6 separate regions of the Homo sapiens genome follow, and all the other regions are linked to region 1. Evidence: promoter capture Hi-C in 16 types of primary human blood cells and fetal thymus (Javierre and others, 2016). All regions are on one chromosome and are shown on one strand. Each heading gives the region's core, a stretch centred on a gene start or on the middle of the fragment in contact. The rest is flanking DNA. Distances are from core to core; before and after follow the strand shown. Region 1 holds the start of PSMD12 (proteasome 26S subunit, non-ATPase 12). Region 2 overlaps BPTF (bromodomain PHD finger transcription factor). Region 3 has its middle 25 kb from the start of BPTF. Region 4 has its middle 8.5 kb from the start of SNORA38B. Region 5 overlaps PITPNC1 (phosphatidylinositol transfer protein cytoplasmic 1). Region 6 overlaps HELZ (helicase with zinc finger).

Region 1 (3,870 bases), core at 642-3,141:
TACATTGTATTGGCTCAAATAGTATTTTAATATGACAGATTAGTATCCAATTTCTAAATATTAAGGTATTTAATGAGAAATTCATCTTCCTGGTTTCTCCCTCAAATTAGCAGCATCGACAATACTCGGCCTTCATCCCCAATTGGCAAAGATTATCTGAAGGTGAAGATCTGCCGTCTCCTTTTCCTGGGCAGGTGCTCGAAAGTTCAGGTTTTTGGCCAGCCGCGGTGGCTCACGCCTGTAATCCCAGCACTTTGGCAGGCAGAGGTGGGTGGATCACTTTAGGTCAGGAGGTCGCGTGCGACCAGCCTGGCCAACGTAGTGAAACCCCGTCTCTACTAAAAGTACAAAAATTAGCCGGGCGTGGTGGCACCTGTAGTCCTAGCTACTCGGGAGGCGGAGGCAGGAGAATCGTTTGAACCCGGGAGGCGGGGGTTGCAGTCAGCCAAGATTGCGCCACTGCACTCCATCCTGGGTGAAAAAAGTGAAACTCCGTCTCAAAAAAAAAAAAAAAAAAAGTTCAGGTTTTCACTACAATAGGCTTCTAGGCAGGACAGCATGGTGTGTGAGGGCACCAGCTCCAGAATCTAGAATCGGTCTGCCTGGGTTTGCTTCTTGGCTTCACCACTTTACTAGCTGTATGATCTTGGGGCATGTGATTCAACTTTTTCTAGCCCAAGTTTTCTTACCTGTAAAATAAGGATAATAGTAATAGCCATCGCATAGGGCTGAGGTGAGGATCAAATGGCTTAGTGCATGTAAGCACGGTGCCTGACACTGCAGAAACTACTCAACAAATATCAGTTATTGTTATCTGTCTGGCATTGGAGGCGGCTGAGTTTTCCCACCCTTATGTAACTGATGTTTGTTGATGCTAGCTGCTAGAAAGCTCTTAATGAATTTGTGGCTCCCCCTCAGCAAGCATACTGAACCTAAGATATACATACGTACCAACTTTATCACCTTTCTCCATCCTTGTTTCTTGGAAAGCCCGTTAAACTCTTATAGTGCCTACTTGTCTTTACTTCTGTAGTTCCGTCTTCAGTAATGACTCCACCCCACCTCAATCTTACTAATTCCTCAAGACCCAATACAAACGTCAGCCTTCCTGTAAAACCTTCCCTTATGGCACCATTAAGAATGCATAGCTTCCTTCTCGGTGTTCCAGTAACACTTTCCCCTTGTATGGCCCTCACCACCATGCATGACTTGACTAATTCATCACGTACATCAACTCCTAAAGGACAGGGTCCTGTGTTAGTCATCTTCGTACTATCACTTTCCTGCCCCTTCTCCTGGCCAAAGACCAGGCACATAGCCATGATCCACAAACGATGTAACGACATAAATTGATTGAGCAACAGCAACAGAACGAAACTCTCTGATCTAGCCTTAATACTGAAGCGGCCTTAACCCCTGGGAAACTACTAAGGTAAATATCACTTAAACAGCATCCAAGAAACGGCAAAAAGTTAAACGGAGCCCTAAGTCCCACGGAGGGAAGTGACCATCTGTTTTGGGGAGGGTCTGGGAAGCTATAGGCGCTGGCGTACTCCGCAGCCCTGGCCGGGCCGACCTGGGGTCTCCCACTCGTGCAGGCCCAACTAGGGCTGGACAGGCATTGGGGGGTGCACGCTCCAGCCCGCAGGCCCCCTGAGGCCTAAGCAGGCTCCGCGCCGTGACTCAGCCCCTGGCGCCCGCCAACAGCCAGCCGGCCTCTCCTCACCTTGGCTAGCTTCGCACACTCGGGTAGGCGCTGATCCACCGTGGCGCTGTAGTCCACCTCCATCTTGACGATGCGCCCGTCAGCCCGCTCCGAGCCGCCGTCCGCCATGGTCCCCGCCTGAGCGTCCCTTGCTGTCCCCCTGCTTCGGCCACCACTCGTCACCCACACCGGAAGTTGCCCGCGCACCCGCTCAGGCAGCCCATCGGGAGCCCACGCAAAGGACCCCTCGAGGTCCCCGGCGCTGGTTGCCACTCAGGCACTGCCGCGGACAGCCTGGGGGTGGGGCTTGAGGCGCGCGGGGCGGGACTCGCCACTCCAGCCTGCAGCGTCAGGTTTTGTCTCTGGGAACATCAGACTTTTTACCTAAAATTTGCGATGAGAAAAGCGAGTGTAATAGAACAGACCATCTCATATATCCCTACACCCCTGCTTCGAAATATGATTTCTCAGGACCGTGGCCAGTCGCTTTTCTTGGATCTCGGTTTTCTCATCTCTACATCAGGAGGCTAAAATAAACCTTAAAATAGAAAATTCTAAGGTTTTATCTACTTGAGAATCTTGGTGGCTTACTCTGTGGGATCTCTGAAAGCTCCTAAGAGAAGATATGGCAGCAGCTCAGTCATTTAATAAGCAAAGTGGTTTTTCTCTTTGTTTTCATTTTCACTGTAATCCACTAAGTTGGTAAAAAGAAAAGTTAAAAAGACATATTTGTTATCCCTATAGGATTTTCGTGAGCATCAAACTAGATGACATGTGAGACAATTTCAATTCTTAAGGGCCTTACACGTTTTATGTGTTATCATTCATACCATGCTGGTCCCTAGAAAATAGCTTGAGATCTTAAAAAAGCTTAGGATCCTTGAAAATGGGAATGAGGCCGGGCGCGGTGGCTCACGCCTGTAATCCCAGCCCTTTGGGAGGCTGAGGCGGGCGGATCATGAGGTCAGGAGATCGAGACCATCGTGGCTAACACGGTGAAACCCCGTCTCTACTAAAAATACAAAAAATTAGCCGGGCGTGGTGGCGGGCACCTGTAGTCCCAACTACTCGGGAGGCTGAGGCAGGAGAATGGCGTGAACCCAGGAGGCGAAGCTTGCAGTGAGCCGGCGAGATTGCGCCACTGCACTCCAGCCTGGGCGACAGAGCAAGACTCCGTCTCAAAAAAAAAAAAAAAAAAGAAAAAGAAAAGTAAAGAAAATGGGAATGAGGTTGTGTTTGGTGTGGGCATATGGTCAACAGCAGCCTGGAAAGCAAACAGGAAAACGGGAAATCTTGGAGTGGTTTATCTATTATGTTAGTGGTTCTCAATTTAATTAGTGCCGACATCGCTTTATAGATGCTGAATAGATCTCTTTGTTTGTTTTAACTGCAATGAAAATCAGGGAAAATATAAACCATCTACAAGCAAAATAAGACAATATCTCAGCTATAATCTGTAATGTAGAGGAGAAACAAATTTTACCTTTTTTTTATTTTTGTAGAGATAGCAGCTATACTACGTAGCCCAGGCTGGTCTCAAACACCTGGCCTCAAGCAGTCCTCTCACCTTGGCCTCCTAAAGTGCTGAGATTACAGGTGTGAGCCACTGTGCCCAACCAAGAAACAAATTTTAAAATAGCAAAATAATATATATTTCAAGAGATAAGGGCTAAAACATGTCTACAGTGGAAAATACAAGGAAGTAGTTATTTACACCCATACACAATAACTATAAATGTAAAAGCTGCAACTGCAACAGGTGTGTTCTCTTGGTTCCTGAAGCATGGTAAGGGCCTATTGTTGGTGACATTTTCCAAAATGGTGAGCAACAAGCCACTTCTTGGTAAAGCTCTTATTGTTTTTTTTTTATTTTATAGTCCATCAGATGGGTCTTATGGCTCATGCCTATAATCCCAGCACTTCGGGATGCTGAGGTGGGTGGATCACTTGAGGCCAGTAGTTCAAGACCAGCCTGACCAACATGGCGAAACCCCGTCTGTACTAAAAATGCAAAAATTAGCCAGTCGTCATGGCACGCACCTGTAATCCCAGCTTCTCGGGAGGCTGAGGCAGGAGAATTGCTTGAACCCGGGAGGTGGAGGTTGCAGTAAGCCAAGATTGCGCCACTGCACTCCAACCTGGGTGACAGACGAGACCCTGTCTCA
Region 2 (3,870 bases), core at 1,002-3,501, 500 kb after region 1:
GGGTGATTTTTTGATACATTGTCGAGGAAATCAAATATTTTATTTTTCTTAGTGGAACAGTAAAATACTTATGTTTGTCAATAAAACTGTTCATTTAAGTTTATTTGCTTTAAAAGCTATGGTCGTCATTCAAATTGCCTTTTTTGATGCATAATAAACTGCACAGATTTTAAAGATGATTTCAGGCAAATAGGATTATCTTTTTCCATGCTGTGATATTTTGAGTATTTTTCTATGTAAAATCAAGTAGGAAACTTTAAACATAGTGATATGTGTCAACAATTTTGACAAATCTGAAAGATTTTACATCTTTTATGAAAATGAGATTAAAATAATTTCAGTTTAACTGTACTTTTGTGGTAGATTATATGTGGACTCCTCATGATAGTTTTAAAGCCATGTAGAATTTTCACGCAGTTTATAGTATGCAGAGGTTTTAATTGTAATGTTACCAATTTATAGAAATTAAGTTTTCTGTTATTGCTTTTATTTAATAAGTGCTTAAAAATATGTTATTTGTATAGATTAGTGAAGCTTATAATAAAAAAAGCTTCTTATACATGAATTTATAGTCCATCTGAGAAGCCAAGACATATTCAGCATATAACTCAGAGGCCAGTTTTCATTCATTATGTAAGTGGGCCAATCTTTCTTAACTATTGCTTTTATCCTGTCAATCCTTTGCTCTGAAATTAGGACCTACTAAAATAGAAATTACCAGATTAGATTAGCATGTTTTTCTGTCACTCTCCATTCTAAATATAATTACGTGAACACAGCATTATATTTCATTTTTTTGCAGAGACAGAGTCTCACTATGTTGCCAGGCTGGTCTCGAACTCCTGGGCTCAAGTGATCCTCCAGCCTTGGCCTCCCAAAGCGCTAGGATTACAACAGGCGTGGACCACCACACGCCTTTAAACAGCATTTTAAAAATCTGTATTCATTTTCCGAATCAACTAAACTATGCTTTTAAATCTATACAGCTTTCTACTCCCCATTCTAGGTACAAACCACATATTAACTTACTGACTTCCCGTGCCTGAATTCCTTCTGTCCACGTTCAGTTCTGTATGTCCAGCAGACTCCTGGACCTGTCCGCAAGGCAGGCACCTCAAACGTGTTTAAAACCAAACTCATCGTTTCCCCCCATTACCTACTCTTCATCCAGCGTTCTCATCTTAGTAAATGGAATTACTGTCCCACCAGCTGCTCAAGCTAGAAATATGAGAATAAACTTTTTCCTTTATTGTTTGCTATGCCTTTAAAATAAATATTGAATCAGTTTCTCTCCATTCCCACTGTCCCTCCGTGATACAAGCCAGTGTCATCTTCATTAGACTAGTCAGTCACCCCTAAAGTAGTGTAACCCCCTACCCCAACCTTCCAAGATTTTTTCTTTTTTTTTTTTTTTTGAGATGGAGTCTCACTCAGGCTGGACTGCAGTGGCCCAGTCTCAGCTCACTGCAACCCCCTGCCTCTTGGATTCAAGCGACTCCCGAGTGGGTGGGATTACGGGCGGCCGCCACCACACCTGGCTAATTTTGTATTTTTAGTAGAGACAGGGTTTCACCATGTTGGCCAGGCTGATATTGAACTCCTGACCTCAGGTGATCAGCCCACCTCAGCCTCCAAATGTGCTGGGATTACAGATGTGAGCCACCATGCCCAGCCATAGCTGGATGATTTTTAAAACAGCAATTTTGATCAAGTCTCCTTTTCCCCTAAGTTGAAAAACCTTTTAATTACAATTACTTCCATTTGCCCTTAACCAAAACTTCAGATTCTTTAGCACAGATCCCTAACTTTGTACATTTAATTATCTTGCTTTCTAACACTTAAGACAACATAAATAAAAAGCAAACCAAAGCACCTAAAAACCTGTTGGCTAACTAGCTCATTCTTGAGGTCTCAGCCTATTTATGCTACTTCCTAGGGATTTCTTTGCCTGCACCCCTTTCTTTCCCTGAACCCCTTTTTCTCTTGCATCGTGAAATACTACTTTTTAAAACACCCATCCTACCAATAGTTTTTTTGTTTTGTTTTGTTTTTTGATACAAGTCTCACTCTGTCGCCCAGGCTGGAGTGCAGTGGCACAACCTTGCTTCACTGCAACCTCCGCCTCCCAGGTTCAAGTGATTCTTCTGCCTCAGCCTCCCAAGTAGCTGGGATTACAGGTGCCTGCCACCACACCCGGCTAATTTTTGTATTTTTAGTAGAGATGGGGTTTCACCATGTTGGCCAGTCTGGTTTTGGACTCCCGACCTCAGGTAATCCACCTGCCTCGGACTCCGAAAGTGCTGGGATTACAGGCGTGAGCCATCGTGCCCGGCCTAGTTACTTGTTTTAAGGTAAATATTATACACTTCATAAGGTGAGGAAAATGATGACAACTATGTATATGATACCCATGAAGTGCTGGTACTACTCTAAACACTTTATATATTTTAATTAATTTAATTCTAACAACAGCATCTTCCAGGATATGTACCGTCACCCTATTTTTCAGATGGAGAGACTGAGGCATAGAGAGTTTTAAGTAATTTATCCAAGATCACACAACTACAAAGTGGTGGGATCGGGATTTGAACCTAGGCATTCTGGCTCCAGAATGTGTGCTCCTAAGCACTACTTGGGCTGCTTGACCAAGAGCTTAGGACCTAGCTTTTGTCTTTAATTGCTGAATTGCTAGTTTTATCAGTTTCCTGCAGCTGCTATAACAAAGTACTATACCAAAAAAAAGTACTATAAAACTGGGTAGTTTAAAACAGTAGAAATTGATTATTTAACAGTTTTGGAGAATAGAAGTCTAAACTCAAAGGTGTCAGCAGGGCCATGCTCCCTCTGCAGGCTCTAGGAAAAAAATCCTTGCTTTTTTTTTTTTTTTTGGCCTTTTCTAGCTTCTAGCACCCCAAGTGTCCTTGGCTTGCTGGCAGCATAATTCCAATCTCCCTGTCACTATCTTTTCAAGGCAGCTTAGGTTTTTTCTATCAAGCACCTAACAGTTCTTCAGCCTCTTCCCATTACCCAGTTCCAAAACCACTTTCACATTTTTGAGTATGTTAGCAGCAGCACCCCACTTCCCGTACCAAAAGTTGGGAGTTTTCCAGGGCCACCATAACAAAGTACCACAAATGGGGTGGCTTGAAAAAATATGAATTTATTGTCTCACAGTCCTGGAGGCCAGAAGTCTGAAATCATGGGTCAGCAGGGTTGGTTTTTCTGGAGACTTTCAAAGAGAATCTGTTCCATGCCTGTCTCCTAGCTTCTGGCAGTCCTTAGCATTTCTTGGTTTACAAACAGACACATCACTCCAGTTGCTGCCTCTATGCTACCTTCTTTTCTTTTTCTTTTCATTTTTTTGAGACACGGAGTCTCTGTTGCCCAGGCTGGAGTGCAGTGGCACGATCTCGGCTCACTGCAACCTCCACCTCCCAGGTTCAAGTGATTCTCCTGCCTCAGCCTCCCAAGTAGCTGGGACTACAGGCACATGCCACCATTCCTGGCCAATTTTTTGTATTTTTAGTAGAGATGGGGTTTCACCATGTTGGCCAGGATGGTCTCCATCTCCTGACCTTGTGATCTGCCCGCCTTGGCCTCTCAAAGTTCTAGAATTACAGGCGTGAGCCACCACGCCCGGCCCATTACCTTCTTTTCTATGTGTCACCTTGGGTCCTCTCCTTTTCTAAGGATACCAGTCATTTGACTTAGGGGCCACCCTAAATCCAGGATGATTTTTATCTCAAGATCCTTAACTTTACATCTGCAAAGACCCTATTTCCAAATAAGATCACATCCTGAGGTTGCAGGTGGACATGAACTTTGGGGACATTATTCAACTCATTTCACTAGTGTTCTTTACTCTTCATT
Region 3 (3,870 bases), core at 409-2,908, 430 kb after region 1:
CACTGATGCGCAGTTTCCTACTGCCAGGACATTGATGGCTATACTGGTGGAGGAGGAACCTGTGCATTTTTCTTATTTTTTTATTTTTTAGATGGAGTCTCACTCTGTTGCCAGGCTGGAGTGCAGTGGCGCGATCTTGGCTCACTGCAACCTCTGCCTCCCAGGTTCAAGCAATTCTCTTGCCTCAGCCTCCTGAGTAGCTGGGTCTACAGGTGCATGCCACCATGCCCAGCTAATTTTTGTATTTTTAGTAGGGACAGGGTTTCACCATGTTGGTCAGGCTGGTCTCGATCTCTTGACCTCGTGATCTGCCTGCCTTGGCCTCCCAAAGTGCTGGGATTACAGGTGTGAGCCACCGCACCCAGCCGATCCTGTGCATTTTTTTAGCTTTGAGCAGGCTTGGATCTCAGCCAACTGGATGATGGCCTTGCAGAACTGTTTAGACTCACAGCAACAGAGCCGGCATGCCTGCAGAGTTCCCAGGCCACGGTGCTTTGGATGCGGGACTTCTCTGCCATCCCCTGCCATTGTGGTCTTGCTGGCAGGATATCTACCAAACAGTTTAGGCTGCTCAGCTCACAAATACGGGAAGCAAACTCTTTGAAGACTGCGAGGAGGCATGAGCTGAACCAAGTGTGCTCCAAGCACTCCTAGCTGTCAGGTAATGGGGAATGCCCCCCTTGAAGGCCACTTAGATCACTAGCAATGCTGTCTTCTTCACCATGAGGTCACTGACGTTAATCATCCAGTTTTCTTGCTGTGGAGTCACAGGAGAGTAAGTCATTTAGGCTGAAGACTTTTTTGTGTGTCCTTCTCCTGCCAGCTTGAGAAAGCTAGGGACTTCTTTTTTGTTTTTTGAGGCGGACTCTCGCTCTGTCGCCCAGGCTGGAGTGCAGTGGCGTGATCTCAGCTCACTGCAAGCTCTGCCTCCCGGGTTCACGCCATTCTCCTGCCTCAGCCTCCCAAGTAGCTGGGACTACAGGCGCTCGCCACCACGCCCGGCTAATTTTTGTACTTTTAATAGAGACAGGGTTTCACCATGTTAGCCAGGATGGTCTCAATCTCCTGACCTCGTGATCCGCCCGCCTCTGCCTCCCAAAGTGCTGGGATTACAGGCGTGAGCCACTGCTCCCCGGCCAGGCTGGGGACTTCTTGATACAAGCTGGATGAGCTTGCCTTGAGGATATGAGGCTAGGCTGACTTTAGGGAAGTCAGTTTTTGGAAAGAGTTCTCAATCTCTGAAACAAAGCACACAGTGAAGCTGGTAGCAAAGAAATCCATTTTTGTTTGTTTTTTTTTTAGAGACATCGTCTCATTCTGTCACCCGGGCTGGAATACAGTGCTTGATCATAGCTCAGTATAACCCTGAAGTCCTGGGCTCAAGTGATCCTCCTCCTTCAGCCTCCCCAGTAGCTGGGACCACAGGTGTGCACCACCACGTCCAGCTAATTTTTTTATTTCTATAGAAACAGGGTCTCGCTGTGTTGCTCAGGCTGGCCTCAAACTCCTGGGCTCAAGTGATCCTCCCGCCTTGGCCTCCCAAAGTGCTGGGATTACAGGCATGCGCCATTGCACCCGGCGAATCCTAGATTCTAGAATTGCTTGGGGTAAGGGGTCTCCTAATCCAGGAACCCAGACCCTTTGCTCTGCTTGAGAACGCACTGTCTGAACTGAACATAACCCACGTCAGTCCGGCTCACAAAACTACACTTATGGGGATTGGCCTGGAGGTGGCGCCCCTGTTGTTGGTCTAGAAATGCTGGCCAGAGGCTCAGGCCAGTCTGGCAAATGGATAAGAACATCACCCAATGGAAGAGGATGTCACAGCTCAGAAGGCTGGGCTGCACGCTTTATCAGCCCCTGGAAGAGAGCAGGGGCACTGCCCAAGCCTGAAAACATTGCACTTCCTTAAACTGCTCAACACTTATCTTGACATCTGTGGGTTTTTTTGTTTGTTTGTTTTTTGTTTTTAGATATGTCTCACTCTGTCACCCAGGCTGGAATACAGTGGCACGATCTCTGTTCACTGCAACCTCCACCTCCTGGGTTCAATCGATTCTCCTGTCTTGGCCTCCCAAGTAGCTGGGATTACAGGCATCCACCACCATGCCCGGCTAATTTTTGTATTTTTAGTAGAGACGGGGTTTCACCATGTTGGCCAGGCTGGGCTCGAACTCCTGACCTCAAATGATCCACCTGCCTCGGCCTCCCAAAGTGCTGGGATTACAGGCGTGAGCCACCATGCCCAGCCTTGACATCTGTTTTTAACTTCCATTCCCAGGTCCAGAGTGATCTGGGTTTTAAATATTACACCTTGATGTCTTAATAAAACTTCCAAATCCAGCCTTCCCAAAAAATTATTCCATGACACAGCTTAAACACTCTTCTGATCAAAATGTACTGAGTGTTTTTTAGGGCAAAGATACATGTGACATCTTTGGTGGGTTGGTTTGTTTGAGGCAGGATCTCTGTTACCAAGGCTGGAGTGCAGTGGTGCAATCTAGGCTCACTGCAACCTCTGCCTCCTGGGCCCGAACCATCCTCCCACCTCAGCTTCCCAAGCAACTGGGACTACAGGTGCGTGCCTGGCTAATTTTTGTATTTTTTGTAGAGACGGGATTTTACCATATTGCCCAGGCTGGTCTCGACCTCCTGGTCTCAAGTGATCCACCCGCCTTGGCCTCCCAAAGAGTTGGGCTTACAGGCATGAGCCACCACGCCTGGCCACATCTGATATCTTTAATAAAAAGACTCCAAGCAGGGCGGGCCTGAGATGGAAGAATCGCTTGAACCCGGGAGACAGAGGTTGCTGTGAGCCGAGATCGCGCCATTGCAATCTAGCCTGGGTGACAAGAGCAAAACTCTGTCTCAAAAAAAAAAAAAAAAAAAGACTGCAAGCAGGCTAGATTGAAGGGCTGGTCATACTTTCATCACCCCATGTCCCGCAGCCTGGCCAGTTTCACCCCATAGTTATGTTGAGCACCTCCTAGCGGAGGGGTCAGGTAAGTCAGGTAGCTGCAGGTGGTCTGAGAGATTCCATTCATTCATTTCTGGGCCACTGATCTGGCCAAGGGATTCAATCTATGTAAACGGGTTGAGGCATGTCTGCAAGACTGCCTTCTGTTCCTTGCCTCTGTGATCTGGGTCTGCTTTTCTGAACACGAAGGAGTCAGACAATCAGCAAAGCAAGGCGCAGTCCTGGGGAGTGACTGCTATAAGACTACAGTAGCCCTGGCTGAGGTCAGAGCCTATAGAATTTGGTCCAGCCTGGCCATACCTGTTTGTAAGGGCAATCTACTGTATGTACGTGGATGTGTGTTTTCCCAGGACAAGGCAAAGAAGATCCATTCCTTCCAGCCTCAATCTGTATTAGTCAGGGTTCTCCAGGGAGACAGATTCAACAGGAGAGAAAGAGAGAAAGACGAAATGGAGTTTATTTATTAGGGAAATTGGCAAGAAGTCCCAAAACAGGTCGTCTGCAGACTGGAGACCCTGGGAGGCTGGTAGTATGGCTCAATTCAAGTCCCGAAGGCCTCAGAATCAGGGAATCTGATGGTGTAGCTCTCAGTTCAAGGCCAAAGGCCTGAGAAGCCAGGAAGGGTGGAGGAGAGGGGAGAAGTCCTGGAGTTTGAAGGCTGGGGAGCCTGGAGTTGTTGTCCAAGGACAGGAGAGGAAGAATGTGTCCCAGCTCCAGCAGATAGCTTGACATAGTTACCTCTCTGTTTTTGTTCTCTCCGGGACCCTAGGAGATTGGATAAATAATGCTTTACCAGGTTTCTAGATATTCTTTAATCCATTCAAGTTGACACCTAAAGTTAACCACCACACAATCCATAGATCCCAGCCAAGGCAAAAGAAGCTTTACCCCAG
Region 4 (3,870 bases), core at 822-3,321, 380 kb after region 1:
GAGTGAAACTCTGTCTCAAAAATAAAAAAAGGAAATGACTTCCTCTTATGAACCTTATCTGTTTTCCGAAGGAAATGTGGGCTAACGGGTTATTACTACTTAACATGCGGCATTTATTTGCTTTTTGCCTCCTTAGCCTTCTTTGTAATTGTTGGTGACATCATTATGGTTGAGTTCATTCTGGATCATATATCCAGTTCTTTTTTGAACAGTTTAATCTTAAAAAAAAATTGCAAGCAAAAACAACACCCATATACCCTTCATCTAAATTTACCAATTGGTAACATTTTATCATGTTTGCTTTGCTAATCTCTGTATTTTTTCTTTCGTTCCTAAACCACTGGAGAGTTATTTGCAGACATCCAGACACTTCAGCTTAATCCCATAAATACTTCAGCTTAATCCTCTAAAACAAGGGCATCTTCTGCATGACCACAATACAACGATCAAATTCAGAAAATTTATATTAATGGAGTATTGTTCTCTAGAGTGATTACAGTCTATATTCTGATTTCCACAGTTGTCCCAGTAATGTCTTTCATAGCTGAAGGAAGGAGGAGGGGATCTTTCTGGTAGTTGCACATTGTTGCCAAAATGAAATTCTTTTTTCTTGGAAGTATCTTCCCTCTAATTCCATACTTGCCAAGCAACTGACACTGATTTACTCTCCCAGAAACACAAATACCAGGATGGGGAGGCTCTATATGAGAGGTAATTACAGTTTCCTAAATTGGCATAATCCCTGTAAATTGACAAATTGAAATTCTTGTCTAAATTTAATTTCATGTGAACCTAATTATCCTTGGCTACTTTTCATCTCTGGATGAATTCATATGCTTTGGGTTGTCAGTGCCAAATTTGTTATGCTTTGTTTAATACGTTCAGACCACAGAGCTGACAGCATCTATTTCTTCTGGTTTGTTTGGTTATACACCAGGTAAGGGATAGTTAATATACAGATGTTTTATATTACTTCAAAATGAATTTGGACCAACAGGGCACAGTGGCTCATGCCTGTAATCCAAGCACTTCGGGAGGCTGAGGCAGGGAGATCACTTAAGCTCAGGAAATGTAACTACCACAGTAGTCGGGTAACATGGGGAGACCCTGTCTCTACAAAAATTTAAAAATTAGCTGGTTGTGTTGGTACGTGCCTGTAGTCCCAGCTACTTGGGCTGACATGAGATGATCGTTTGAGCCCAGGAGGTTGAGGCTATAGTGAGCCATGTTTGTGCCACTGTACTCCAGCTTGGGTAACAAAGCAAGACCCTGTCTCAAAAAACAAAAAAAAAGGAAAGAAGTAAAATAAACTTGGGCTTGCGCAGTGGCTTACACCTGTAATCCCAGCCCTTGGGAAGGCCGAGGCAGGCAGATCACTTGAGGCCAGAAATTCGAGACCAGCCTGGCCAACATGGCGAAACTCCATCTCTACAAAAAATACAAAAATTAGCTGGGCGTGGTGGCACATGCCTGTAATCTCAGCTACTCAGGAGGCTGAGCCACAAGAATTGCTTGAACCCGGGAAGCAGAGTTTGCAGTGAGCCGAGATAGCACCACTACATTCCAGCCTGGGCAACAAAGTGAGACTATCTCAATAAAATAAGATTCACTTAGAGAACAATAAACTTGAAGAAAATGTTCTTGGATTTGCATAGACCACATGCACCATTTCTTTACTTTACATTACTGGGTTGGACAATAGCTTATAATATGCAACAGCATACTCTACAGAATTCAGTTTGCACTATTTTCAAGTTTAGTGCATGATTCCCTTAGGAAAATCAGGAAGTTTAAGTCTTCTATTAGCTTTGGTATAGGCTTTTTATTTATGCATTGCCTCTTTCACAAAGAGACATGTACAATAAAATAGTATAATAAACCTAGGAAAGGTGGACACAAACACAAAACTGCAAAAAGTCAACAAAATTTTAGCTCACAGAGACTGATTATGTATTTTAAACTTGTGTAGGTTCCTTCTTTTTCTTTTTATTATAGACAACTCCAAACATAAAAAAAAAAAGAGTTTAACAAATACCATACATATCGCCCAGCTTCAACAGTTATCTTTTTTTTTTTTTTTTAACCAGGTCTCGGTTTGTAACCCAGGCTAAGGGTACCGTGGCGTGATCTCGGCTTATTGCAACCTCCACCTTCTGGGTTCAAGTGATTCTCATTCCTCAGCCTCTCAAGTGGTGGGGATTTCAGGCATGCACCACCATGTCCAGCTCATTTTTGTATTTTTAGTAGAGATGGGGTTTTGTCATATTGGCCAGGCTGGTCTCGAACTCCTGACAAGGTAATCTGCCTGCCTTGGACTCCCAAAGTGCTGAGATTACAGGTGTGAACCCCCATGCCCAGCCTCAGTTTCAATTTCTTTTTTTTTTTTTTTTTTTTTGAGACAAGAGTCTCACTCTGTTGCCCAGGCTGGAGTGCAGTGGCACGATCTTGGCTCACCACAACCTCCGCCTCCCAGGTTCAAGTGATTCTCCCACCTCAGCCTCCTGAGTAGCTGGGACTACAGGCGTGTGTCACCATGCCTGGCTAATTTTTGTATTTTTAATAGAGATGGAGTTTCACTATGTTGGCCAGGCTGGTCTCGAACTCCTGACCTCATGATCCACTCGCTTCGGCCTCCCAAAGTGCTGGGATTACAGGCGTGAGCCACCATGCCTGGCTGGTTTCAATTTTTGAACAAAGGAGATTAGTTCAAGGGAAGGACTATTATGGCCTCTGCATAAAAATAAGCAAAAGCACCAGCCTGGCCAACTTGGTGAAACCTCATCTCTACTAAAAATACAAAAATTTGCCGGTGTGGTGGTGGGCACCTGTAATCTCAGCTGCTCAGGAGGCTGAGGCAGGAGATCGCTTGAACATGGGAGGCAGAGGTTGCAGTGAGCTGAGATTCCGCCACTGCACTCCAGACTGGGTGACAGAGCAAGACTCTGTCTCAAAAAGAAAAAAAAAAAAAATGGAATGACCAAAAGCAACTTAGTCTGGTAGAAGCAAGATGGAGTCAGTTATGTCAGACTTCCATTACTACTATAATTTCTGCAAAGGCAATTTCAAAATCTATGGTGATTATGGTTAATAGATTATATACACGAAAATTGCTAAGAGAATAAATGTTGAGTATTCTACCACAGGCAAAAATAAGTATGTGAGGTAATATTTATGTTAATTAGCTTGATTTAGCCATTCCACAAGGTATATATATATCAAAAGATTATGTTGTACACCAAAAACAAAAAGGAAAAATTATTTTACTGGAAAACACATTGTGAATATTTTTTTCCTTCCATTAAAGCAAAAGTTGGCCAGGCATGGTGGCTCAGGCCTGTAATCACAGTACTTTGGGATGCCAAGGTGATAGCAGCAGGAGGCAGACAAACCCTAGGCAGACAGGGGCAGATCCCCAGTGAAACCCAAACTTCAAGCCAAAGACAGTTTAAAGCCTAGCTACAAGTCCTGGGTAAGTCCACAGACTGGATTGGGAAACTGTCTTCCTGTTTGGCACACTTTCCTCTGATTGATCCCCACCCTGCACCTGTTTTACATGTATATACCCTTCCCTAATTGGTGTATTACACTGTCGTGCCCACCTTTGAGTGGTGCCTTTGTTTTAGCCTTTTTTTGCTTACCCACAAACCAATCAGCACTCCCTATTCTGAGCACATAAAAGCCCCAGACCCAGCCACACTGAGTGAGAGACCACCTGACTTTGAGTAGGGGACCACCCTCACATCCCGTCTCTACTGAGAGCTGTTTTGTCACTCACTAAAATTCTTCTCCACCCTCGTCACCCTTTATTGTCAGTATAACCTCATTCTTCTTGGACAGGGGATAAGAACTTGGGACCCACCAAGCACGGGT
Region 5 (3,870 bases), core at 430-2,929, 300 kb after region 1:
CGTTTTTGCATGTATCAGCCATTTGTTCTTTTTCATTGCTGTGTAGTATTCCATTGTGCACCTAGACCACAATTTATCTGTCTAGTTTCTTGCTTATGAACATTTGGACTGTTTCCAGTTTTTGCCTCCTGTATTTAAAGCTGTCGTGAGGCCAGGTATGGTGGCTCACACCTGTAATCCCAGTACTTTGGGAGGCCAAGAAGGGAGGATCACTTGAGGTGAGAAGTTGGAGACCAGCCTGGGCAACATAGTGAGACCCATCTCTACAAAAGAAGAAAAGAAAAAATTGAGGCCAGGCACGGTGGCTCACACCTGTAATCCCAGCACTTTGGGAGGCCGAGGCGGGCAGATCACGAGGTCAGGAGATCGAGACCATCCTGGCTAACACAGTGAAACCCCGTCTCTACTAAAAACAAAAAAATTAGCCAGGCGTGGTGGCGGGCACCTGTAGTCCCAGCTACTCGGGAGGCTAAGACAGGAGAATGGCGTGAACCCGGGAGGTGGAGCTTGCAGTGAGCCGAGATCGCACCACTGCACTCCAGCCTGGGCGACAGAGCGAGACTCCATCTCAAAAAAAAGAAAGAAAGAAAAAAAGAGAAAAGAAAAAATTGAGACACAATATAATTCACCCTTTTAAATAAATGTGCAATTCAGTGGTTTTTCGCATATGCACAAGGTTGTGCAACTGTCACCACTGTCTAATACCAGAATGTTTTCATCACTCCAAGAGGAAATGTTATATCCATTCATAATCACTCTACATCCCTTCCTTTCCTCAATCCATGTCAACTACTAATCTACTTTCTGTCTCTATGTTTGTTTGTTTGTTTTTGAGATGGAGTTTCGCTCTTGTTACCTAGGCTAGAGTGCAATGGCGCAATCTTGGCTCACCACAACCTCTGCCTCTCGGGTTCAAGCAATTCTCCTGCCTTAGCCTCCCGAGTAGCTGGGATGATAGGCAGTAGGTGGGATTACCACCATGCCCAGCTAATTTTTGTATTTTTAGTAGAGATGGGGTTTCTCCATGTTGGTCAGGCTGGTCTTGAACTCCCGACCTCAGGTGATCCGCCCGCCTCAGCCTCCCAAAGTGCTGGGATTACAGGCGTGAGCCACCACACCCAGCCCTATTTCTATGTTATTTAATACTTATTCCTGACATTTAATAATGATGGTCAAACTTTTAATATATCAATTTCTTTGATTTTTTTTTTTCTAGGATCCTAAGCACTTCAAGTCAGAGAAGACAGGACGGGGACAGTTGAGGGAAGGCTGGAGAGATAGTCATCAGCCTATCATGTGCTCCTACAAGCTGGTGACTGTGAAGTTTGAGGTCTGGGGGCTTCAGACCAGAGTGGAACAATTTGTACACAAGGTAAGTGGTCCAACAGCAGTTCCTGGGCTGTGGACAAGGTAACTGTCTATATTGCCAAATTGGAGTCCATGATACACAACAGGTGCACAAATACATCAGGTCACTGCATCTCAAAAACACTTTTTGGGCCGGTTGGGGTGGCCAACACCTGTAATCCTAGCACTTTGGGAGGCCGAGGCGGGTAGATCACTTGAGGCCAAGAGTTCAAGACCGGCCTGGCCAACATGGTGAAACCCTGTCTCTACTAAAAATACAAAAACATTAGCTGGGCATGGTGGTGGGTGCCTGTAACCCAGCTACTCAGGAGGCTGAGGCAGGAGAATTACTTGAACCCGGGAGGCAGAGATTGCAGTGAACCAAGATCGTATTATTGCACTCCAGCCTGGGCAATAAGAGAGAAACTCTGTCTCAAAAAATAAGAAATAAAAATAAAAAATAAAAAAATAAAAAATACTTTTTGGATGAAAATGCATTTTATGCATAGGTTCAATTTTCTTCCACTAATAGATGTTTTATGCCCCATCTCTCATTCTGTGACCTCCATGTCTATTAGGCAAGCGTATTTGGGAAACACACTTCTCAGTTTGGTATTGGACTCATCTACTCCCAGACAGAGAAACTTGGGAAACAGCCAAAGGGCTTATCTGTGAGCACAGCCCCTAAGGTTAATTGCCACCCAAAAGATCTACAAATGTAAGCACCTAAGCAGAAGATGCCCAGAGGTAGAACAAGAAATCCCAATAGTCCCATTAGACAGTATACCCCAGCATTTCTGCTTCTTTAATAATTCTGTTACTAAAGTAGCCAGGTGTGGTGGCTCATGCCTGTAATACCAGCCCTTTGGGAGGCTGAGGCAGGTGGATCACTTGAGGTCAGGAGTTCGAGACCAGCCTGGCCAACCTGGTGAAACCCTGTCTCTGCTAAAAATACAAAAAAATTAGCCGGGTGTGGTGGCACGTGCCTATAATCCCAGCTACTCAGGAGGCTGAGGCAGGGAGAATTGCTTGAACCCAGGAGGCAGAGGTTGCAGTGAGCCAAGATCGTGCTGCTGCACTCCAGCCTGGGTGACAGAGCAAGACTCCATCTCAAAAAAAAAAAAAAAAAAAGGAAATAATAAGAATAATTCTGTTACCAAATAATTGTTAACAGCCTCGGGATGCAGATTTCAATTGTAAACCTACTTTGGCTAAACATGTTCATTTTGGTTTTTTGTTGTTGTTGCTGCTGCTGTTGTTTTGAGACGGAGTCTCACTCTGTCGCCAGGCTGGAGTACAGTGGCACAATCTCAGCTCACTGCAACCTCTGCCTCCCGGGTTCAAGTGATTATCCTGCCTCAGCCTCCCGAGTAGCTGGGACTACTGGGAGGTGCGCACGCCACCATGCCCAGCTAATTTTTGTATTTTTAGTAGAGATGGAGTTTCACCATGTTGGCAGGGATGGTCTCGATCTCTTGACCTCCTGATCTATCTGCCTCGGCCTCCCAAAGTGCTGGGATTACAGACATGACCCACCGTGCCCGGCCGGCATGTTCATTTTGTAGCAGAATCCCACTTGGTGAAGAGTCATATTTTCTCAGGGTTTCTAACATGACTCTGTCCCTCATGGGAGAAAAAAATGGGAAATGCAATGTTGAGCATTGCCCTTTGTAGCTGCTCTCATTTTCATAAGAATAAATACTACCCAAATTGTCTCTACATTCCAGATAGGCTGGTTATCTGTTTATTTTTCCACTTAAAAACTGATAAGAGTAGCTTGCCAAAATTATTTTGGAGTCACTGGAATTTAACCTTAATGCACTGAGCTTTTTGTTACTTAGATGGATTTGTCTATTGAGATTGGGGGCCAGTTAACAATAAAAAGTTTAATTCTGGAATTTAGGTCCAAGAACTAGACTGCCAGTCTCTTGAACCCTCATAACTCAGGCTCACGGTAATGGCAGACTCTGGCACAAACATGAGAGCCCTGGGTGTTTTCTTGAACAGAGAAGCATGCCACTCCTTTCCCGTGCTCCAGAACCCAGCCAGCCAGCCAGGAGCCAGAATGAAATGTGATACGTAGAAATCAAGCTCCAGGATCTCCTGTTTTCCTCCTGTGTCCTGATTATTGCACAGGAAAGCAATTGCAGCTCCCAAAGTAAATGTTTTCCAGCCTCAGCTTTGTGTCTATCTAAGGCAGTGTCTTCCTTGGTTTCCCACAGCATCCCTTTTTGTGTGTGGCTTTTTAAGGTAAAAAGACTTCCTCTTACTAGGGCCACTATCATAGTATTATTTTGTTTTGTTTTGTTTTTTTGAGATGGAGTCTCAATCTGTTGCCCAGGCTGGAGTGCAGTGACATGATCTCGGCTCACTGCAACCTCCACCTCCCAGGTTCAAGCAATTCTTGTGCCTGAGCCTCCTGAGTAGCTGAGGCACAGGTGCATGCCACCACACCAGGCTAACTTTTGTATTATTAGTAGAGACGGGGTTTCACCATGTTAGCCAGGCCAGTCTCGAACTCCT
Region 6 (3,870 bases), core at 791-3,290, 260 kb before region 1:
AATGAACAATCAAAAAATGAAATTAAGAAAACAATTCCATTTATGATAGCATGAGAAAGAATAAAATGCTTAGGAATAAATTTAACAAAAGAAGTGCAAGACTTATACTTGGAAAATTACAAAATACTGTTGAAAGAAATGTTAAGCGTCCTGAACAAATAGAAAGATGTCCATGTTCAGGTACTCGAAGACTTAATATTGTTAAGGTTGCAATACTCCCCAAATTAATCTAGAGATTTAAAGCAATTCTTTTTTTAAATGTCAGCTGGCTTTTTTTCTGAAGAAATTAGTAAGCTGATCCTAAACCTCACATGAGAAAATTCAAGGAACCCAGAATAGCCAAAACAATCTTCCAAAAGAACAAAATATAAGGACTCATACTTCCAATTCCAAAACTTACTACAATACTACAGTGTACAATACAGTGTGGTACTGGCAGAAAGACAGACACACAGATAAATGAAATACAATGGAGAATCCACAAATAAACCCAGCATCTACAGTCAACTGATTTTTGACAATGTTGCCAAGACTATTCAATGGGGGAAAGGAGTCTTTTCAAAAGCGGTGCTGAGAAAACTGTATGGCCACATGCAAAAGAATGAATTTGATACCCACCTCACACAATATACAAAAATTAACTCAAAATGGACCAAAGAACTAAGAACCAAGTGTAAGAGGTAAAACTATAAAACTATAAAAAGGGGCCGGGTGCGGTGGCTCAAGCCTGTAATCCCAGCACTTTGGGAGGCCGAGGCGAGCAGATCACGAGGTCAGGAGATTGAGACTATCCTGGCTAACATGGTGAAACCCCGTATCTACTAAAAAAAATACAAAAAAAATTAGCCGGGTGTGGTGGTGGACACCTGTAGTTCCAGCTATTCCGGAGGGTGAGGCAGCAGAATGGCGTGAACCCGGGAGGCGGAGCTTGCAGTGAGCCGAGATGGCGCCACTGCACTCCAGCCTGTGCAACAGAGCGAGACGCCATTTCAAAAAAAAAAACAAACAACTATAAAAAGGAAATGTAAAAGTACATCTTTGCCATCTTGGATTAGGCCAGGGTTTCTTGGATATGACACCAAAAGCATAAGCAGCCAAAGAAAAAAATAGATAAATTGTAGTTTAGCATCAAAGGACACTATCAAGAAAGTGAAAAGACAACCCACACAGTGAGAGAAATAATTGCAAATCATATATGAGATTAAGAGTCTGTACCAGAATACATTAAAAAAAACCTCTTATAACTAAGTAACAAAAAAATAACCATTTTTTTAAATGGCTGAAGCATATGAATAGACATTTCTCCAAAAAAGATACAAATGACCAAGAAGCACATGCAAAGATGTCAACATCATCAGTAAATAGGGAAATGCAAATCAAAACTACAGTGAGGGCTGGGCGCGGTGGCTTACGCCTGTAATCCCAGCACTTTGGGAGGCTGGGGGCGGATCACCTGAGGTCAGGAGTTTGAGACCAGCCTGGCCAATATCGTGAAACCCCGTCTCTACTAAAAATACAACAACAACAACAACAAAATTAGCTGGGTGTGGTGGTGGGCGCCTGTAGTCCCAGCTACTCAGGAGCCTGAGGCAAGAGAATTGCTTGAACCTAGAAGGCAGAGGTTGCAGTGAGCCAAGATCATGCCACTGCGCTCCAGCCTGGGCGACTGAGTGCGACTCCGTGTCAAAAAACAAACAAACAACACTACAATGAGATCCTACTACACACCCATTAGGATGGTTATAATTTTTTTTACAAAGCGAGTATATAGAGAAATTGGAATCCTCATACATAGCTGTGGGAATATAAATGTGCAGAGAACACAGTTTGCAGTTCCTCAAAAAGTTAAACATAGACTTACTACATCACCCAAGAACTCCACTCCTAAGTTACAGTGTGGATGCACTTCAAAAGCCAGATATAAAAGGCCACATAATGTATGACTCAATTTTTATGAAATGTCTCCATAGACACAGAAAGTAGATTAGTGGTTACTAATCTGAGAGTGGGGAAATTGGGGTGTAATTGCTTAACAGTTATGGGGTTTCTTTTATGGGTGATGAAATGTTCTGGAATTAGACAGTAGTGATGACTGTATAACATTGTGAATACACTAAAATCCACCAAATTGTACAATTTAAAATGGCTAAAATGGTGACTTTTATGTGAATTTTATTATAAATAGCTAAAACATCACTTAACTGAAAATTACATTACTGATCAGTTGTAAAACTACTGTTCATTATAATCTGAAAGACTGTCAGATGTGTGCCAAATTTTTGTAAAGTATGGTTCCAAAATTCTAGATCCTCACAATACATATATGTAGATACCAATTCATCTTTATTGTGCTTCTAACTTACTTTAAGAGCCTAAAATCACAGTAAGTTGTTTTAATGACAGCTATACAGAATGAGCCAATCAATGAATACTGGGACAATTTGAACAGACTGCCTCTAAATCCCTACAAATAAGACATACAGCTTTCCCTATGAATCTTGACTTTTAATTAGCATCTATAGCAGGCAACTTGTAAAATGTGAATCAATTATTTCTAATGGCCTTTAGATATCATTCTGAAACTGCCAAAATGAAGCTAATATCAAAAAAGTATTTTTCATATATCAAAATTAGAAATCTTTATCCTGATTTAAGATGTCTCTGTCTGATATGACTACAACCGGCTTTACACATTTTTATCTTTAATCACTGCAAATTTAATGGGATCAGCTAGACATTTTTGTAGCCTACACCACATGGTACTGCTTTGGAAGTTTTATAACCTGGAATTACTAAGTTTTTCATAGGAAAAAAAAGTCCATAAAGATGCTCTTTAGAAATATCTAAGTATTTTACTTTATTTATTTATTTTTTTTTTTGAGACAGAGTCTTGCTCTGTCGCCCACGCTGGAGTGCAGTGGCATATCTTGGCTCACTGCAAGCTCAGCCTCCCGGGTTCACGCCATTCTCCTGCCTCAGCCTCCCGAGTAGCTGGGACTACAGGCGCCCGCCACCACGCCCAGCTAATTTTTTCTATTTTTAGTAGAGACGGGGTTTCACCGTGTTAGCCAGGATGGTCTCGATCTCCTGACCTCGTGATCTGCCCGCCTCGGCCTCCCCAAGTGCTGGGATTACAAGCGTGAGCCACTGCACCCGGCAGAAATATCTAAGTATTTTAAGATAAAATTCAGTTTAACTTAAAATGCTTAGTTTAGCACAGTCAATTTTATGTTAAAAATCTGCAAATTCTGATATTTGGGAATCAGAGTCCCTGGGTCTAACAAAGCACCAGGCTGAGTGGCAGGAGAAGGAGCACAGCACTTGGAGCTGGCACTGGCTGAAAAGCCAGCATCTTTGGAAAGTTCTCATTAACAAATTTATAATTAACACATGTAACTTAAAGCGAAAAGAAGAATCACTAAAAGCCATTTCCTCAGATTAAAAAAAGACAAAGCTCCTTGAATAGAGTCCTCAGATATTCAATATTTTCTTTAAACAGCAATAAAAGACTTTTAAGGGGCTTCATGTTTCAACAAAAGTGTCCACTTTACAAAACCTGAAATACAATAGGAGGGTGGCAATTAAAATAATTCCCAAGAAAGGATTATCTTTAATACGCTGTTAAATTCAATAAGATCTGTGCCTTCCTATTATCAAATCAATAAATACTGATATTTTTCACAATCAGCTAATAACAAAAGGAAAATAAGAAGACATTTACCTCTTCTAAGCTAGGGAGCGAAGAAGAAGATACTGTTCGAGATGACAATGGGTGAAATGGCTCTTGACCAATAGCATGTTGATGATTCTGTATTTGTACAAAAGGGTTCTGCGGTGGCCTGTGAGGCAATGGAGGTAGGCCATAGGGAA

Evidence for each region. The method cuts DNA at HindIII sites, captures the fragments that hold promoters and counts their contacts. A CHiCAGO score of 5 or more calls a contact.
Region 2: a fragment that was not itself captured here is called in contact with the fragment with the promoter of PSMD12 in region 1 in 8 of 17 cell types (naive CD8 T cells, naive CD4 T cells, megakaryocytes and 5 more); the score reaches 7.8 in naive CD8 T cells.
Region 3: a contact is called between a fragment that was not itself captured here and the fragment with the promoter of PSMD12 in region 1, in 3 of 17 cell types (erythroblasts, megakaryocytes and naive B cells). The highest score is 7.6, in erythroblasts.
Region 4: a fragment that was not itself captured here is called in contact with the fragment with the promoter of PSMD12 in region 1 in 8 of 17 cell types (megakaryocytes, naive CD8 T cells, M1 macrophages and 5 more); the score reaches 9.6 in megakaryocytes.
Region 5: a fragment that was not itself captured here is called in contact with the fragment with the promoter of PSMD12 in region 1 in 14 of 17 cell types (naive CD4 T cells, total CD8 T cells, naive CD8 T cells and 11 more); the score reaches 21.7 in naive CD4 T cells.
Region 6: a contact is called between a fragment that was not itself captured here and the fragment with the promoter of PSMD12 in region 1, in 1 of 17 cell types (monocytes). The highest score is 6.5, in monocytes.

What each region holds. Positions count from the first base shown.
Region 1 is chr17:67,364,686-67,368,555 of GRCh38, forward strand. It overlaps PSMD12 (proteasome 26S subunit, non-ATPase 12), which reads right to left and starts at 1,892. Exons shown (of 11, transcript NM_002816.5): 1 at 1,727-1,892. The coding sequence starts at 1,834. RefSeq lists enhancers at 1,708-1,767, 1,788-2,097. The HindIII fragment of the contact is 3,672 bases long and covers 1-2,573 here.
Region 2 is chr17:67,859,942-67,863,811 of GRCh38, forward strand. The region is part of intron 2 of BPTF (bromodomain PHD finger transcription factor); the gene reads left to right. Among named protein-coding and RNA genes, the nearest start is that of BPTF, 36 kb to the left of the region's middle. The HindIII fragment of the contact is 3,407 bases long and covers 549-3,870 here.
Region 3 is chr17:67,798,853-67,802,722 of GRCh38, forward strand. No RefSeq gene overlaps it. Among named protein-coding and RNA genes, the nearest start is that of BPTF, 25 kb to the right of the region's middle. The HindIII fragment of the contact is 4,398 bases long and covers 1-3,857 here.
Region 4 is chr17:67,747,260-67,751,129 of GRCh38, forward strand. No RefSeq gene overlaps it. Among named protein-coding and RNA genes, the nearest start is that of SNORA38B, 8.5 kb to the left of the region's middle. RefSeq lists a silencer at 1-268. The HindIII fragment of the contact is 6,806 bases long and covers 1-3,870 here.
Region 5 is chr17:67,668,292-67,672,161 of GRCh38, forward strand. PITPNC1 (phosphatidylinositol transfer protein cytoplasmic 1) reads left to right here. Exons shown (of 9, transcript NM_012417.4): 7 at 1,217-1,372. Among named protein-coding and RNA genes, the nearest start is that of NOL11, 48 kb to the right of the region's middle. The HindIII fragment of the contact is 7,066 bases long and covers 1-3,870 here.
Region 6 is chr17:67,103,448-67,107,317 of GRCh38, forward strand. HELZ (helicase with zinc finger) reads right to left here. Exons shown (of 33, transcript NM_014877.4): 31 at 3,722-3,870. Among named protein-coding and RNA genes, the nearest start is that of CACNG1, 61 kb to the left of the region's middle. The HindIII fragment of the contact is 4,509 bases long and covers 1-3,870 here.